Linked DNA regions of Homo sapiens: region 2 is linked to region 1. Evidence: promoter capture Hi-C in 16 types of primary human blood cells and fetal thymus (Javierre and others, 2016). All regions are on one chromosome and are shown on one strand. Each heading gives the region's core, a stretch centred on a gene start or on the middle of the fragment in contact. The rest is flanking DNA. Distances are from core to core; before and after follow the strand shown. Region 1 holds the start of PCDH17 (protocadherin 17). Region 2 overlaps DIAPH3 (diaphanous related formin 3).

Region 1 (7,608 bases), core at 1,307-3,806:
GCACGATCACTGGCGCGTTGTCATTCACGTCTAGCACTGTCACCCTCACCGTGGCGTTGCTCTCCAAGTGCGCGGGCGCCCCCGAGTCCTTAGCAAGCACCTTGAACTCAAAAGCCTTGGTCTGCTCGAAGTTAAAGGAGCGCAGGGCGTAGATGGCCCCGTTCGTGGGATTCACAGACACATAGGTGTAGATAGACACGTCGCCGATGTGCGAGGGCAGGATAGAGTAGGATACGGTGCCGTTCTGGCCCAGGTCGGGATCCTGGGCGAGCACAGAGCCCAGGTACTCTCCCGGGATGTTGTTCTCGTGCACCTGAAGCACGTAGAGCCCTTTGGTGAACCGAGGCGGGTTGTCGTTCTCGTCTAGAATCTTGATCGCGAACGACTTGGTGGAGTTGAGGGGAGGAGAGCCCCCGTCCCGCGCCACGATGGTCACGTTGTACTCGTCTTGTGTCTCGCGGTCCAGCGGGCGGTCAGTCACCACCGTGTAGAAGTTGTCGTAGTTCTCCTCAAGCTTGAAGGGGACGGAACCCCCGGGCCCGCCCAGGCCCCCGCCGCCGCCCGTCCCTCCTCCGCCTAGGACCCGACACTGCAGCTGTCCGTTCTTGCCAGAGTCCCGGTCAGTGACCCGCACCAGGGCGATGACGGTGCCGGGAGGGGCGGCCTCGCTCAGCGCCCCCTGGCGCACGGAGACGAAACCGATGGACGGCGCATTGTCGTTGCGGTCGATGAGCTTGACCGTGACTTTGCAGTGGGCTGGGATAGGGTTAGGCCCCAGGTCTCGGGCCTGCACGTCAATCTCCAGCATCCCGTTTTCCTCATAGTCCAGATTGCCCTTCACACGGATTAGGCCGGTCTTGGGGTCGATGGAGAAGAGCTCCCGCACGCGGTCAGGCACGTAGCTGCTGAAAGAGTAGAGCACTTCACCATTGGGACCTTCATCGGCGTCGGTGGCGTTCAGATCGATGACCACTGTACCCAGCGGAGCGTTCTCGGGCAGTTCCACCAAGTAGGATGGCGCCTCGAAGACCGGGCTGTTGTCGTTGGAGTCAATCACCTTCACGTTGATCTGTACGGTGGCGGAACGTGGAGGCTCGCCACCGTCCAGGGCAGTCAGCACGAGCGTATGGTGATTCTGTTGCTCGCGGTCCAGAGCCTTCTGGATGACCAGTTCTGGGAACTTGGTGCCGTCGCCGCGGGACTTAACGTCCAGTCCAAAGAGGCCGTGATCGTCGCGCGTGAGCAGGTAGGTGCGGAGCCCATTCTCGCCGGCGTCGGGGTCATGTGCGCTGGTGAGGGGGAAGCGGGTGCCCGGAGCAGCGTTCTCCGAGATGTCCATTTCGATCTGGTCCGAGGAGAAGGAGGGCGCGTTGTCGTTGATGTCCTGGATCTCTACCTTGATCATGCAGATCTCCTTGTCGTTGGCGAACACCTCGAGGGACAGCTGGCACTTGGCATTGTGGCGGCACAGGGACTCGCGGTCGATGCGCTGCTTGGTGTAGAGGAGCCCGCTGTCTGCGTCCACGTCCAGCAGGTGCGGTGCGGAGTTCTCCAGCACCCGGTAGCTACCCGACTTGCTGCGCCCTCCGCCGCCGCGCTCTGCAGGCGGAAGCCCAGGCTGCAGTCGAGCATCCCTGCCGATGTTCCCGATCACCGTGCCGGCCCCTTGCTCCTCCGGCACGGAGTAGTTGAGGTTCTTGAGAGTGAGGGCAGGGGCCCATAGAAGAAAGCAGCAACAGATGGAAAGGTACATCCCAGACCTGTAAGGTGGGGGCAGGAGCAATCGGACTGGAGGAGCCAGAGAGGGAGTGCGCGCCAGCCTGGGGCCCTGGCGCAGCGTGCGCGCGCGACGCGAGCCACAAGTCTATGGGTCCTTTTTTCCCTCTGCACCCGAGCTGCGGCACCCGGTGGTCTCTCCTTATTCTGCTCAAGTTCCCTGAACCTGTTGATCTACAGCATCCGCACTGGGTGAGAAGCTGCGGTGCAGCAGAGCTGCAGGGGCTTGGAGCAAGGCGGTGGCTTCCTGCGGCTGGGGGTGAGCCAGGGGTTTCGTCTCTCCCGCCCGGACTTCGGGAGGCTCAAACTTGAGCGATGAGGCAGGCGATAAGAAGGAAATCTCGTCTGGGAGAGATGATAATGAGCTAAAGAATCAGTAGGTTTTCCTCGCTCCCGCTAGGGTGCTGCAAATCTACTCCCGCCCGGAGACTCCGGAATACTCTTCACATCGAGTGGGGGAGGGAGCAGGGAGGTGTGTCTCTAGGCAGATCCGAAAGTGAAATTCTTACTTGCTGCTCGCCTCCCGTGATGAAATTGATGGGGATGAAGAGCAACGAAGACAGAGTCACAGATATATTTTGAAGCTTCCCCAGCGCACCGTGAAATGTCTGCTTGCTGCGCGGGCCGGTCTGTTTTCAGGCAGTGTTTTGCTGCATTTAGAGATCTAATCTTGCATTGCTGGCTGAGGCAGCGGCGGCGGCGGACTGCATCTACCAGCCAAGCGTATTTTTTTTTTCCTCTCTCTCCTTTCCGAGCAGCCAAAGGGAGGGGAGGAAATGCAGCGTAAAGAACTAGTGTCCCGATTTGTAGTTTCCTCTCCCCACCAGGCTCCTCCCTCTCTTCCTCGGAAAAGGCTCTCCCCCGAAATCAAGAAAGCCACAGCCTGATCAGCATTTGCTGTGTGAGTCTATTGGGAGGGGGGAAGTAGAGAGATAAATCTTCGCCTCTGTTCGTAGAACACACTCTCTGATTTCTCTACGCCAAGCCAGTAGCCTCCGCTACCATCCCATCCTCTCCCCGCGAGCAAGGACTTCTCTCCAAGCAGTTTAATTCCAGTTTGCTTTTCTTCCCAGGCGAAGGGAAATCAACAGGCAACTCATGGTTGGACGTGCACATTTAAAGGAGGAGGGGGGAGGCCGAATAAAAAGGAAGGGGGAGCCTCCCTCCCAGTCCTTGCACACACACTCTCCCTGTCTCTCGCTAGAAGGGAAACAGTCTCTGCATTCACAGGGCTGGGCTGTCAAGTGCCTCTTTTCTTTCTATTCAGCATCTCCTTCCAATAGCCCTGCCTCCCAGTCCTCTTCATCTAGAAAAGAAAACCTTGGCGAGGAATAAAAGTGATGAATATTTGAAGCAAATAAAGTACGTGTTTTTTTTTTTCCTTCAATTTTCTCTTATAGTAGGAGGAGTGGGCTGGATGAAAGCAACACATCAAGGTTTGGCGTGATGCATTCTGCAGTCTCTCTTTCAGTTTTTCTGGGCGACTCAGGGAGGGCAGGGGGTGCAGAGCTGCGGCCGCGGCGGTCCAGCCAGGGGCTCCTACCCCGGGGAGCTCCCTCCGAGGGGATGTTAGACACAGGTCTGTCTACACATTATTTCGGGTTCTGGAGGCGCCTCGACATACGGGAATGACACATCCAGAAATGCAGGTGTTCCGATCTGCCGGATGAGTCAGAAGCAGCGGAACGAATCGTATTCACTCTCGCCTCATGGTCCTCCCTTCACAGACATTAGTTGCGGCTTCTTCCTAACGCTTTCTCTGACTCAGTCTATAGAAAGAAAAACCAGATTCATGTTTTTGGGGAAAAAGAAAATGCAAGAGAAAAGGATGGAGGGAAGAAGGTGAAGCTGAATCTAGCAGCACTTTTACTCTACCTCTTTCTGCCGGAGTCCGAGGTTCTGGAAAACAAGGCGTCTGCTTTGCTAGGTGTATTGGTTTATTTATTTTGTTTATTTTTTTTAAACCTTTCCTCTTGGTTAGGCGAGAGGTACCCCGAAATTTTTCAGAGTCTTGGAAAAGGAAAAACAAAATCAGGTTTCCAGTAATTGTTCCCAGCTTAGCCTCGCATCATAGTTCAAGATTTTCCTCTCAATTTTTTCTATTCACAAAGTCCAACATCGATGTGTACAGTTAATTGTGCAGTCTGTTGTGGAGGTTTTTTTTTTTTTTAATTCCTCCTTTTCTGTCACGGGTGGTCTCTTTCAGTCTGGTGTCTGCCGGGATCACCCCACAGTCTGAGAAAGATATGCGGATTTCAAAGCAAATAAATCCATCTCCGCAAGCAAAGCAGCGGATGAAAGGAAAGGTGAAAATTCAATTCAACAGTTGGAGTAGCGTCTCCCCAGCCGCCTTCCGCCGCTGCCGCATCCGCCGGGCTCGCGATCCCTGCTCTCTCCCCAGCGTCTCTTGCTGACTGACTCTATTCACCTCACGCCGCCGCTTAAACATTGATACTGATTCCCTGTCAGCCAATCCGAGCGAGGAGCAAGGCCCTGCCTTCTCGGCCCGCGTCCAATGGGAGGCGGAGAAGAGGATGGCGGGGGCGGGGCCAGGAGCCCCGGCTCTTCGGAGTCATTGATTAGATCAGTTAGATGGGGAACCAGTCCGGCTAGCGGAGCCCAGCGCTCCGCCAAAGCGGACGCGCCCCAGGATTCGCCACCAGGTCTCCCGGGCCTTTAACCACCGGGAGTAGCTCTTCCAGCGCCTTCCTTCGGAAAAGAGAATTTACAAAAAAAAGTTTAACAGCGATTTAATTTTTTTGTGGTCCTACATACACGGAATCGGGAATCGCAGTATGCTTGCAGAATAACGTAGCTGCGGTCTGCCTAAAGGGTTTCTCTACACACACTCTCACACACGCACGCACACACGCCCTCGCCGCACACACGCCCATGCCAAGGGAAGCGCAGCCCTGACTCCGCGTGGACCCATCTGAATGAGGTGCGGAGGAGTGTACGTGGGTGTGTGTGAATGCGCTTCCACGGGCTGAGATGTGTATTTCGGTGAGTGTGTGTGAATTCGAGGGCGCTCGTGAGCCCGTTTCTGCCCGCGCTGGTACGAACATGCCGCGAGCAACAGCAATCAATATGTAACTTTCTTCATCCTCTGAGAAAAATCAGCTGTCCTCAGGCACCTATGCAAGGAAAGTCACTTAATTATGAAAGTGTTTCAGAAGAAAAGCAGACTCCCGTTGAAAGAGAGGCTATGTCTCTTAAGAGAAATAGAGCCTCTCCTTTAAGGAGAAAGGCTCACTGTCAATACAAGCTTTGTAAACTCAAATCCGGCTAAATACTACTTAAGGTTCTACCCCTTTTGGTCATCCTTCCTCACCATCTCAGCCCAGGTTCAAGGTAAAGTGGATACCCACCCCCCAACCCCCGACACACACACACACACACACACACACACACACACTAGTTTCGGTGTTTTGTTCACCTCCATTCTTGTTATTAAAGTGTCACATTGCAATTTGATTTTTTCTCCTTAAGATCAAATAGCCATTGATAACCGCATTTGCTAAAGATCCATGAAAACAAAAGTATAAAACACGAAGGCCAATCATTAGGAGATCTAAGATTTCTGTTTTGTAAGCCATAACACACACACACATATATACACACACACACACACCACCACCACACACCACATACACAAGCACACATACACAGGCCGACTTCTGATTCATCTATTTATTCTCCAACTTCATTTACTAATCTCAGAGAGGTTTTTTTCCCTAAATATTATCACAAACATCTGCAACTGGAGACTGGTTTGCTCGTGATCCAGCCGTTCTGAGAAAGAGTTAAGAACAAAAAAGAAAATTGAAGTATTGAAATAGAAAAGGTGAGTGTTTGATTGCTAGAGTATTGATCGCAATTCATAAATACTGAAGTTGCCATTTATAAATTGTGAATGACTAACATACAAGTGTGTAACATGAATCATTCAGCCTTCAAAGAAAATCAAATCCAAACAAATTACAAGATAGTTCTGAAGATTTTTATTGGGATAATTGCTTAAAGATTCAGGTATAGGAGCTGTTTCCTGGAGTATTCAATGAGATAACCTATAGTCTGAATTTGCAGTCTGATCTGTATCAAAAATTCGCCATTCCCTTAAGAGACTCTGACAGTTTAAAAACTCAAAGAGAAGCTGTTTACAGCCAGACTTTTAAATCCTAAAGTGTCTTTGTATTTTCTAAACAGGTAGTTTGTCACGCATATACTATTGCTGAACGGGAGAGTCAGAGCTTTGTAGAAATCTAGATTGTTTTCCTGAGTGAGTACTTAACCATGCTGCCTTGGGAAATGCCAGTTTTATGTCTCTTTGGGGTTAATACCTCTGTCCCAAGGCACGTATTTTGGAAGCTGAAGATCAGAGGTTTTAAGGCTTTAAAAGCAGCAGCTAACTTGAATAAAGAATAGTGACTGCACATTCACTTATTATTACTTTTTAAATACAGCAAATCTATGTCTTTTTTGCATTACATACTAATTCAAAGAAAGTAATAAAATATCCTTGAGGTTTGTTTGCCATAAAGCAAAAACAAGAGAATGGGAAAAATTCCAAGGAAAGGGTATTATGATTTATCAATTAGACTTAATGAGATGTGCTGGCATGCAACTGAGAGTTGTTAGAAATACAGCTTCTAAGAGACCCAGTGATATGAGAATACATCCTCATAGAGATAAATTTGCTTACGACCCCTCCAGAGTAATTATGTCACATCGCCCCCTAGTGTATATAAAAAGAACTACCATGCTTTAGGTGAAGACCACAGCGTGTCTGACTGAAATGTATCACATATTTGTATTTTATTTAACCTATAGTATTAAATTTTATTGCTGAATACTGACATATACCCAAGGTACTTAATTTTCTTCCTTATGTCCCATACCTAGTTTATGTTCAAAGGGAGTGAAATTAACTGATATTTCATTTCCAATGGTTTGGCTTTCCTTTAACCACAATAATCACTCCTAATTTTTAACCATCTCTTAAGACTTGTATTTTTTCCCCAAACAGTTTTTTTGTTTACAACATAGTTATTGAGGAATGTATTTTTCACTGTGTTTAAAGTATTAAACTTAATTTTAAAAAGAGAGATAGTATAAATATAGCTAAATCGTTCAGAAATATGTTTTAATACCATAGAAGGCTACATAGAACCCGAAACTGAGGAATCTAGAAGAATATATGTTTGTATAAATAGCTAAAGATACTTGCAGTCTCACGTCTCAAGAAGAGACTGATTGATAGTTGTTATTTATAATTACAAATGATAGTCTTAACCTTAAACAGAAATTATATCTTTTAATACACACACATTAAACATCTAAAGATTTGTAAGTTATTCAAACCATGTATGTGTGGATACTCATTGAGAAAAGTATTTGGAAAGACATATAATTATAACGTGTCTAATAAAATATGCTAGTCTAGGTGAGTTTTAAAGGTAAATTGATTGTTATGTTGGAATAGCTTCAAAAAGACAACTATTAAAATCTATTTTTATAGACTGATAAAAATGATTAGTACTGCTATAGTATTCCAATAATTGAATAGCACTATTATTAAAGAATAATGTTGAAATGCAATTTATGGAATTTTATGTAACGTAACTTATTTAATTTTGCCTCAGAAAGACTCCTTAAAATACATATTTATTAGTTGTAGTTGTAGTTCTGAGAGTTTATGCATGCAGTCATAATAGCATCAGTTTTAACATTCTTCAGCCACTTGTCCTACTTGCTGTGTTCTTGAGTTCAATAAAATACAGTTCTTAAGAGACATTTTTGATGCTGATGTTTTCAATGCAGTCGTTGTTTATA
Region 2 (7,608 bases), core at 2,111-4,610, 2.0 Mb before region 1:
CAGCTACTCGGGAGGCTGAGGGAAGACAATGGCGTGAACCCGGGAGGTGGAGCTTGCAGTGAGCCGAGATCCCGCCACTGCACTCCAGCCTGGGCGACAGAGCAAGACTGTCTCAAAAAAAAAAAAAAAAAAAGTGAACTTCCAGCTTGAGCACTTCCTCTACCTGCACTATCTCTAATTATAGTGGGATAGGCAACTCCTCCTGTCCAGCTTCATTTATCTGCTTTGCAGTTTAAGATCTGACTTGCTCATTTCTACAGTTTTGGTCTCCCATGTCTGGAGACAAACCAAAAAGAAGGTGAGGACCAGAATGGGGGCTGTTGGGGTGCTGAGAGCTAATGTGAGGGCTGGGAATGAAGAGTTGTTATCTAGGAATTTCTAAGAAAGCTATAAACATCTTTTAAAAAACTCTTGTGCACTTTTCTTTTTTATTTCTTCAGTGGTCTCAGGAATGGCCTCTTTCCTTTTTACACTGTCTTGTCTGTTACTTCTCATGAAAGATTCCTCACCTGAAACCACAGAGGAGATAAATACCATCTTAGTTTTTCTCTTATCATTTTGTCCCTAAAGCAAGCCCACAGCTATTTTGAGTTTTCTCAAAAGGATAGAAATGCTTTTGCCTGCCTTGGCCCATCCATTATTATTTACCTTTGTCTCCAAAGAAGTTCAAAGACCAAACGCTAAAAGAAAAACCCAGGAAATGCTAGGCATTTCATCCTTGGATCTGGTATAGATCAAGGAGTACTAAGACATTCAAAATAGATATGCAATCCTTGTTTTTGGCAGCATGCATGTTCATTAGCGACCTTGACAAGAACTGTTTCAGAAGAGTAAAGGGTCAAAAGCATGATTGGAGTGGGTTCAAGAGAAAAATAGGGAGCGAGGAATTAAGAGAGTAAGTATGGGCAATTCTTTCAAGGTATTTTACTATAAAGGGAGCCAAGAATTTAGATAGCTGGAGCAGGATGTGGAGACAAACAGAGATTCCCCCCACCTCATAAATTTATGATTATTAGAGCCTCTCTGCTGAGGGGAATGAGCACCTGGAGAAAGAAACCTTTACAATGCAGCAGAGAGAGGGCAAAGCAGCCAGAGGGATGTCCTTGAATAGACAAGCAAAAGTCACATCCAAGCAAAAGTCACATCCGTCACTCACCTTGAGGGCTGTCCTCAGAGGGGAGCTCGGAAGGTTGATTCATCCTAACAGGAGGGGCGGATGTATGTGTGTGCAGTAGGCAGATAATAGGTGTTGGGGAAGGGGTGAGGCACGTGCAGGAGCTCTCTTCTGATCACCTCTATGAGTGAGTTAAATGAGAGGGAGGACATATTGGAAGTTTCAAAGAGTGGAGAAGGTGTGGAGCAGTTGTCTGGGAGAATGGAAGAGTGAATGGACTAGGGAATTGTAGTGGGTTAAAGGTCATGCTTTTGAAGTTCATAGTCATGAATCTAAGTGAGACCAGGAAAGAAATGGAGGATATGTGTGACCTTGGATATACTGTGTTAAGGTAGTTTACATAGGTGTACTATCTGCTTTACAAAGCTGTTGCGAGAATTCAGTGTGTTAGAAGGCATTTTGAAGTATAAGTGCAGGACACCATTATTATGAAACTTAGCTTTGAATTACTTAGCACTTTCCTTTGGCAAAAGGGTTTTCAGATTTCTTGAAGACAGCCTCAGTATCTCTAGAGACAGCATTTGGCGTCTACCACCGATTTACTCAGTAACTAAGTCTAAGCAAATGACTTAACCTCCTTTTGCTTTTACCCCTCAATCTATATGCTGAGGGTGGTAATGTTTGAAGTGCAACAAAATACAGGCTATTCATAAGATGGTATGTATGTATGTGTTTTGTGTGTGTGTGTGTGTGTGTGTATACATACATATATATATATGTGTATATATATAGTTTTAATAATTTGCCTACCAAGTTCATTATTTCTCTGAAGGAAAACCACTGACTAAAAATTCTGATTAGAAACTTTCCTTCTTGGTTTCGTTCAAGAAAGAAATTAATGTCATTAGTATTCAAACTAAAGTTTATCTTGTGTCACAGAGTATGGAAATAATTTCTTTACCCAACACATATTTATTGAGCACCTACTTTGCACCAAGGACGGTCTAGGCACTAAAGCTATAGCAATATTTAAAACAATGTCCCTACTTTCTTGGAGTGCATACATGGACACGCGCACACACGCACACACACATTTCATATTCTATACCCATATTTTGGCTAATTTAATCTCTTCTTTGCCATTAGACTTTTAACTAGAGTTGTCCAATAGCAGAATAAACTGGTTTGTTGGAGATACCATCATGATGTAGTGGTTTGCAGGAAATCAAATAAGCAAAGATAGGAACATTTTGGGGAAGGAGCAGTAAGCTGGCCAACATTCTACATTTAGCTGCAAATGCAGTTTTCAAGCATTCTTTGGGACAGAGGTGTGGGAGCTAGAAAAGAAAAGGATGTGGTCATAGGAACTGCAGGAATACCACATCTACCGTGCTCTTTCCGGCAAACACAATATGTACATTATAAGCTACAGAGCATACACTCCTTTAAGAGAAAATCACTGCTCTATTAGATTTTGATTTTTGAGTAACAGTTGCCCACCTGATATAGAAGGTGAAAGACAAAGTGTATTTATTTTCTTCCAGCAGCTAAAAGGTGATCATACTTCTAAAATTTGTTGAGATTGTCCAAGAAAGTGTGTAAAATCCTCATCCATCACTGGAAGCCTCTGGTCAGAAAATGACAGTGCAGTAAATATCTTCAGCAGCCACCTTTTAATGTACAAGCTGTTTTCAGTTGGAATTTTCAGCACTCACATAAAACACACTGTCATGAGTGACTGCTTGTGCTCCAAAGTCATTACTATTGGGACAATGGAACATCTCTCAGAGAATAACCAAAAAACTTTAAATGTCATGTCAGGTTTGTTGAAGCCATTTTCAAGCCCCATTCAAGGTTACATGAATATTGAGGGTGTCTGTTTTTTAAAAGTCATCATTACCATCACTTACCAATAAAAGAATGTATGTGTGTATGTATATATGTACATGCATGTATGTATAGATGTGTATATACTTGACAATTACATATAACATTCTGGTTTGCTAGGAAGTTTTAATTATTTGCTTGCCAAGTTCATTGTTTCTTTAAAGGAAAATAATCGACTTTTTAAATTCTTATTAGAAACTTTCCTTCTTGATTTCATTCAAAAAGGAAATTAATCTCATTATTATTCAAGCTAATGTTTAATCTTGTGTCACAGAGTGTGGAAATTATTTATTTATCCAACAAATATTTATTGAGGACCTACTTTGCACCAGGGCCATTTTAGGCCCTGAAGTTACAGCAGTATTTAAAATAATGTCCCTACTGTCTTGGAGCACACATTCTAGTAAGACAGACAATGGACAAGTGAGCAAATATATTGTGTGTCCAGCCATCATGTGCCCTGTGAAGGAAAACATGACGGGGAAGGATAGAGCAGTGCAAAGGGCAAATGCTATTTTAGATGGGTGGCTAGGGAAGGCCTCTCTTTTTAGGTGGTGTTTGAACAGAGACCTGAAAGAAATATGGGACCAGGCCCTGATAATAACCACGTGACAGGCATGTCAGGCATAAAGGAAGAAGGAAATGGGCATTAGTGCTAATGAAACGGTTGGCTGTTATATTTTAGTTTATTCTTAAACCCCTGTGTGATTATTTTAAACCTGTCTTACTCTGTTGACTGTTTCTTTGTTTAGTCTATCTAAGAAGACTACTTATTTATTGAGAATAATTATTTTAAATGTGTTTCATAACGTGCACAGTCCTTGGTTATCATGGTGATAAGTTTTATGTTTCTTTTTTCCTTACTGTAGAAAATCAGAAAGTGCAGTTGACAGAAGGGTCACGTTCACACTACAATATCAATTGCAACTCAACAAGGACTCCAGTCGCCAAGGAGCTTAATTATAATCTAGACACTCATACGTCTACTGGGAGGATCAAGGCAGCTGAGAAGAAGGAAGCGTGTAATGTAGAAAGCAACAGAAAAAAGGAAACGGAACTTCTTGGCTCTTTTTCTAAAAATGAATCAGTTCCCGAAGTTGAAGCCCTGCTGGCAAGATTACGAGCTTTATAAGTTAAACTGGTTTTTAAAAAAAATGATTAAGCCAAATATAAAGCCATGCTCTAAACTATAACACTTGAAAAAATTGCTTTTATGTAAGTGACTTTATATAGTTTTAAATTATGATATATATTAGAAAAATAAAGCTAAATATATGATTGCAATGCTTTTTCTATGTACTGGAGGTTTTGGTTTATTCAAGATTGTACCGGGCTTTAATCCTTTTTTTTTTTTTTTTGTCTCCTGGTATTCCTCAGTTCTTTATTTGGTGGTTAAATTATACATATTGCTTTAGAGAGCAGGTAGGTGGCCATGTGTTCAGCAGTGTGTCCTTAAGAAAATACCATCTTTCTAAGCCACTGGAATTTTTACTTTACTATTTTTAACATTAATGGATGTCAGGTCATCAACCTCAAGTCTTTACATATCCATGTATATTCCATATATATTGTTTATATAGGCCCAAGTTTCTCCTTAATTGGGATCTATATACTACCAGCACAACATCAAAAACATGTAATTGAATACATCAGAGCTATATATGTAAGGAAATGACTGGTGACCCCATTATCATCATTGTTGAATTCATGTTAAGTAGACCCTCTAGGGGACCATAAGGCAATTGAGCACATAACGAAAAATGATGCAATAAGAATGTATGCACTCTCTTTGCCAAATGCATGTGCTTTTGTGTAACGTGGATGTAAACAGAATTGCAGTGCTGCCGAAATTCTTGATCTTGGCTAAGAGAGTATTTTTCCCCTTGTAATTATGACTCTGAGATAAAATTGCCATTTTGAAATTTCCAAAGTAACAACTTTTTTTATTTTATGAATAAACTTGGGATTGCAATTTCTCTGATCTGACAATCAATAACTTTAACAAAGATCTAAATAAGTGTTTCAAGGAAAGTTTTCCTAAGCAAATGTAATATTACCTCATTTGGGCATCATTACTCTGTTAATTCTATATCAAAGGAAATAAACTTGCTACTTGCACTAAATGAAAAAAAATGCTTTCTTTTGTCTCTCTTTTTTTGAAAACATTCTGTGGATAAGCTGAGAATAGACTGTGCTATGCAGTCTGTCTAAGCATCTATTTTGCTTTATTACATGTAATAAGTAAGTGACTGTTCTTTTACCTTCAGTTAAAAAGCAGTTATATGGAACTAGTCGGGCAAGGTCTATTGCTTTTTATTTCCTTAAGTTGCCACCTCCTTTCAGCTCTAAGTTAATAAAGTTAATTAATTAGAACTATGAGCCAGGCCCTGTTTATAGACATTGGAGAACAGAGTATTCTCTGTAGCCAGTGTAGGAATAAATGTGAATTTGTATGTATTGCTGAAATGTGCATTTTGCCATCCAGTTGCAATTCCTGTTTTTCTGAAAACAAACCTTAAAAATCAAGAAAGGTGAAGGACATTTACATATTTAAGCTGACGGCACCCCTAACAACAAGGCAGGATTGTTTTGTTTAGGAAAGAATTTAAATGAAAGAACTCTCACTATCAGTTCTTAATGTGATTTTGCAGACTTGGGTTTTTCAGAAACAAAACTTAAATTCAACTAGATAGTTTGGGCACACCAGGAAGCAGGTAAAAACTCTGGAAACTTGGGACCGGGGAGCAGCCACGGGGGAGAAGAAGCCCGGCAAATAAAGGAAAGTGAAGATGACGGAGACTCCGAGGGGCAGAGGAAGGCAAGGAAGTCCAGAAATGGAGCAGTCAAGCCCCAGAGCGTCTGTCTGCAGGGGCTGAGGACAACTTTCAAGCAAGAGGGCCAGGAGCCCAAGGCTAGCAGAGTATCAGAAGCGTCTGGCCACCCACAGGTCAGCAGCCAGCACTCTCTCTCCCTTGATGACAGCAGCTGGCTCCAAAAAGGACCATAGCTGTGGAAAGGAAACCTCTAAATGTCTGATAAAGGTGAGTACCAACTCAAGGAACGATCATTTGGAGATACTTTTATTGGTAGATGCCCTTTCAGCAATGGGCTAGAGGTATGATTAGGGTTTTAAAATGCATGATATTTCCTTAGCCAAACCATAGCATTGACCTTTAATTTGAGGGCAGGAGTTGAGGTACAATTTTATTTTTTTGAATAAGCAGTTTGTTCATTTGAATGAGCCAGTATAATGATTAATTTTTTTTTTTTTTTTGAGACAGAGTCTGTCGCCCAGGCTGGAGTGCACTGGTGCGATCTCTGCTCTCTGCAAGCTCTGCCTCCCAGGTTCACACCACTCTCCTGCCTCAGCCTCCCGAGTAGCTAGGACTATAGGCGCCCACCACCACGTCTGGCTAATTTTTAGTAGAGACGGGGTTTCACTGTGTTAGCCAGAATGGTCTCGATCTCCTGACCTCGTGATCCGCCCGCCTAGGCCTCCCAAAGTGCTGGGATTACAGGCATGAGCCACCGTGCCCGGCAGATGATTAATTTTATGTGTCAACTTGACTGGGCTAAAGGATGCCCCAGACAAGCGGTACGGTTTTATTTCTTATTGTGCCTGTGAGGGTGTTTCTGGAAGAGATTTGCATTTGCATACATAGACTGAATAAGGAAGATAGCCCTCCCACTGTAGGTGGGCATCATCCAGTCTCCTGAGGGCCAGAATAGAACAGAAAGTGGAGAAAGTGTAAATCTGCACACTCTACTTCAGTTGCGACATCGTCCTCTCCTGCCCTTTCTCATCGGCCTTCCCGGTTCGTGGACCTTTGAACTCAGACTAGGATTTACATCACGGGCTTTTCTGCTTCTCAGGCCTTTGAGGTTGGACTGGAATTACACCTTCAGCTGGCAGATGGCAGATGGTGGGACTTCTCAGCTTCCAAAAAATCACCTGGTCCAATCCCTCATTATAAACCGTGCACTCTCCCTCTCTCTCTTTCTTTTGTCTGTCTCTCTAAGTGTGTGTGTGTGTGTGTGTGTGTGTGTGTGCATCTTGACAAGGATGTTCCATCCAGGCCAGTGACAAACCCCATGATATGGTTTGGCAGTGTCCCCATCCAAATCTCATCTTGAATTGTAGCTCCCATAATTCCCATGTGTCATGGGAGGGACCTGGTGGGAGGTCTTTCTTGTGCTGTTCTCATGATAGTGAATAAGTCTCATGAGATCTGATGGTTTATAAAGGGGAGTTCCCCTGCACAAGCTCTCTCTTGCCTGCCACCATGTAAGACATCCCTTGCTCTTCTGCCATGATTGTGAGGCCATGTGGAACTGTGAGTCCATTAAACCTCTTTCCTTTATAAATTACCCAGTCTTGGTTATATCTTTATTAGCAGAGTGAGAACAGACTAATACACCCCTGATCCCAGAAAGATCATTGTGCCCTTTCTCATGTTAGTGTAGAGAATTTGGCTGGAACACACAGACAATTGGGTGGTCATTGAGTTGTCCTAGAGCAATGATCCACTGCTAACAAGTTTTCCCCAACAAATATTTAAAGTAACTTAAAAATAATGGAAGTAATCTCATTACATGAGCTTGTATCT

The links. The method cuts DNA at HindIII sites, captures the fragments that hold promoters and counts their contacts. A CHiCAGO score of 5 or more calls a contact.
Region 2: a contact is called between a fragment that was not itself captured here and the fragment with the promoter of PCDH17 in region 1, in 1 of 17 cell types (endothelial precursors). The highest score is 7.4, in endothelial precursors.

What each region holds. Positions count from the first base shown.
Region 1 is chr13:57,626,692-57,634,299 of GRCh38, reverse strand. PCDH17 (protocadherin 17) reads right to left here and starts at 2,556. Exons shown (of 4, transcript NM_001040429.3): 1 at 1-2,556. The coding sequence starts at 1,753. RefSeq lists enhancers at 1,370-2,049, 4,008-4,593. The HindIII fragment of the contact is 2,681 bases long and covers 2,363-5,043 here.
Region 2 is chr13:59,663,109-59,670,716 of GRCh38, reverse strand. It overlaps DIAPH3 (diaphanous related formin 3), which reads left to right. Exons shown (of 28, transcript NM_001042517.2): 28 at 3,871-5,134. The coding sequence ends at 4,133. Among named protein-coding and RNA genes, the nearest start is that of DIAPH3-AS1, 350 kb to the left of the region's middle. The HindIII fragment of the contact is 9,199 bases long and covers 1-7,608 here.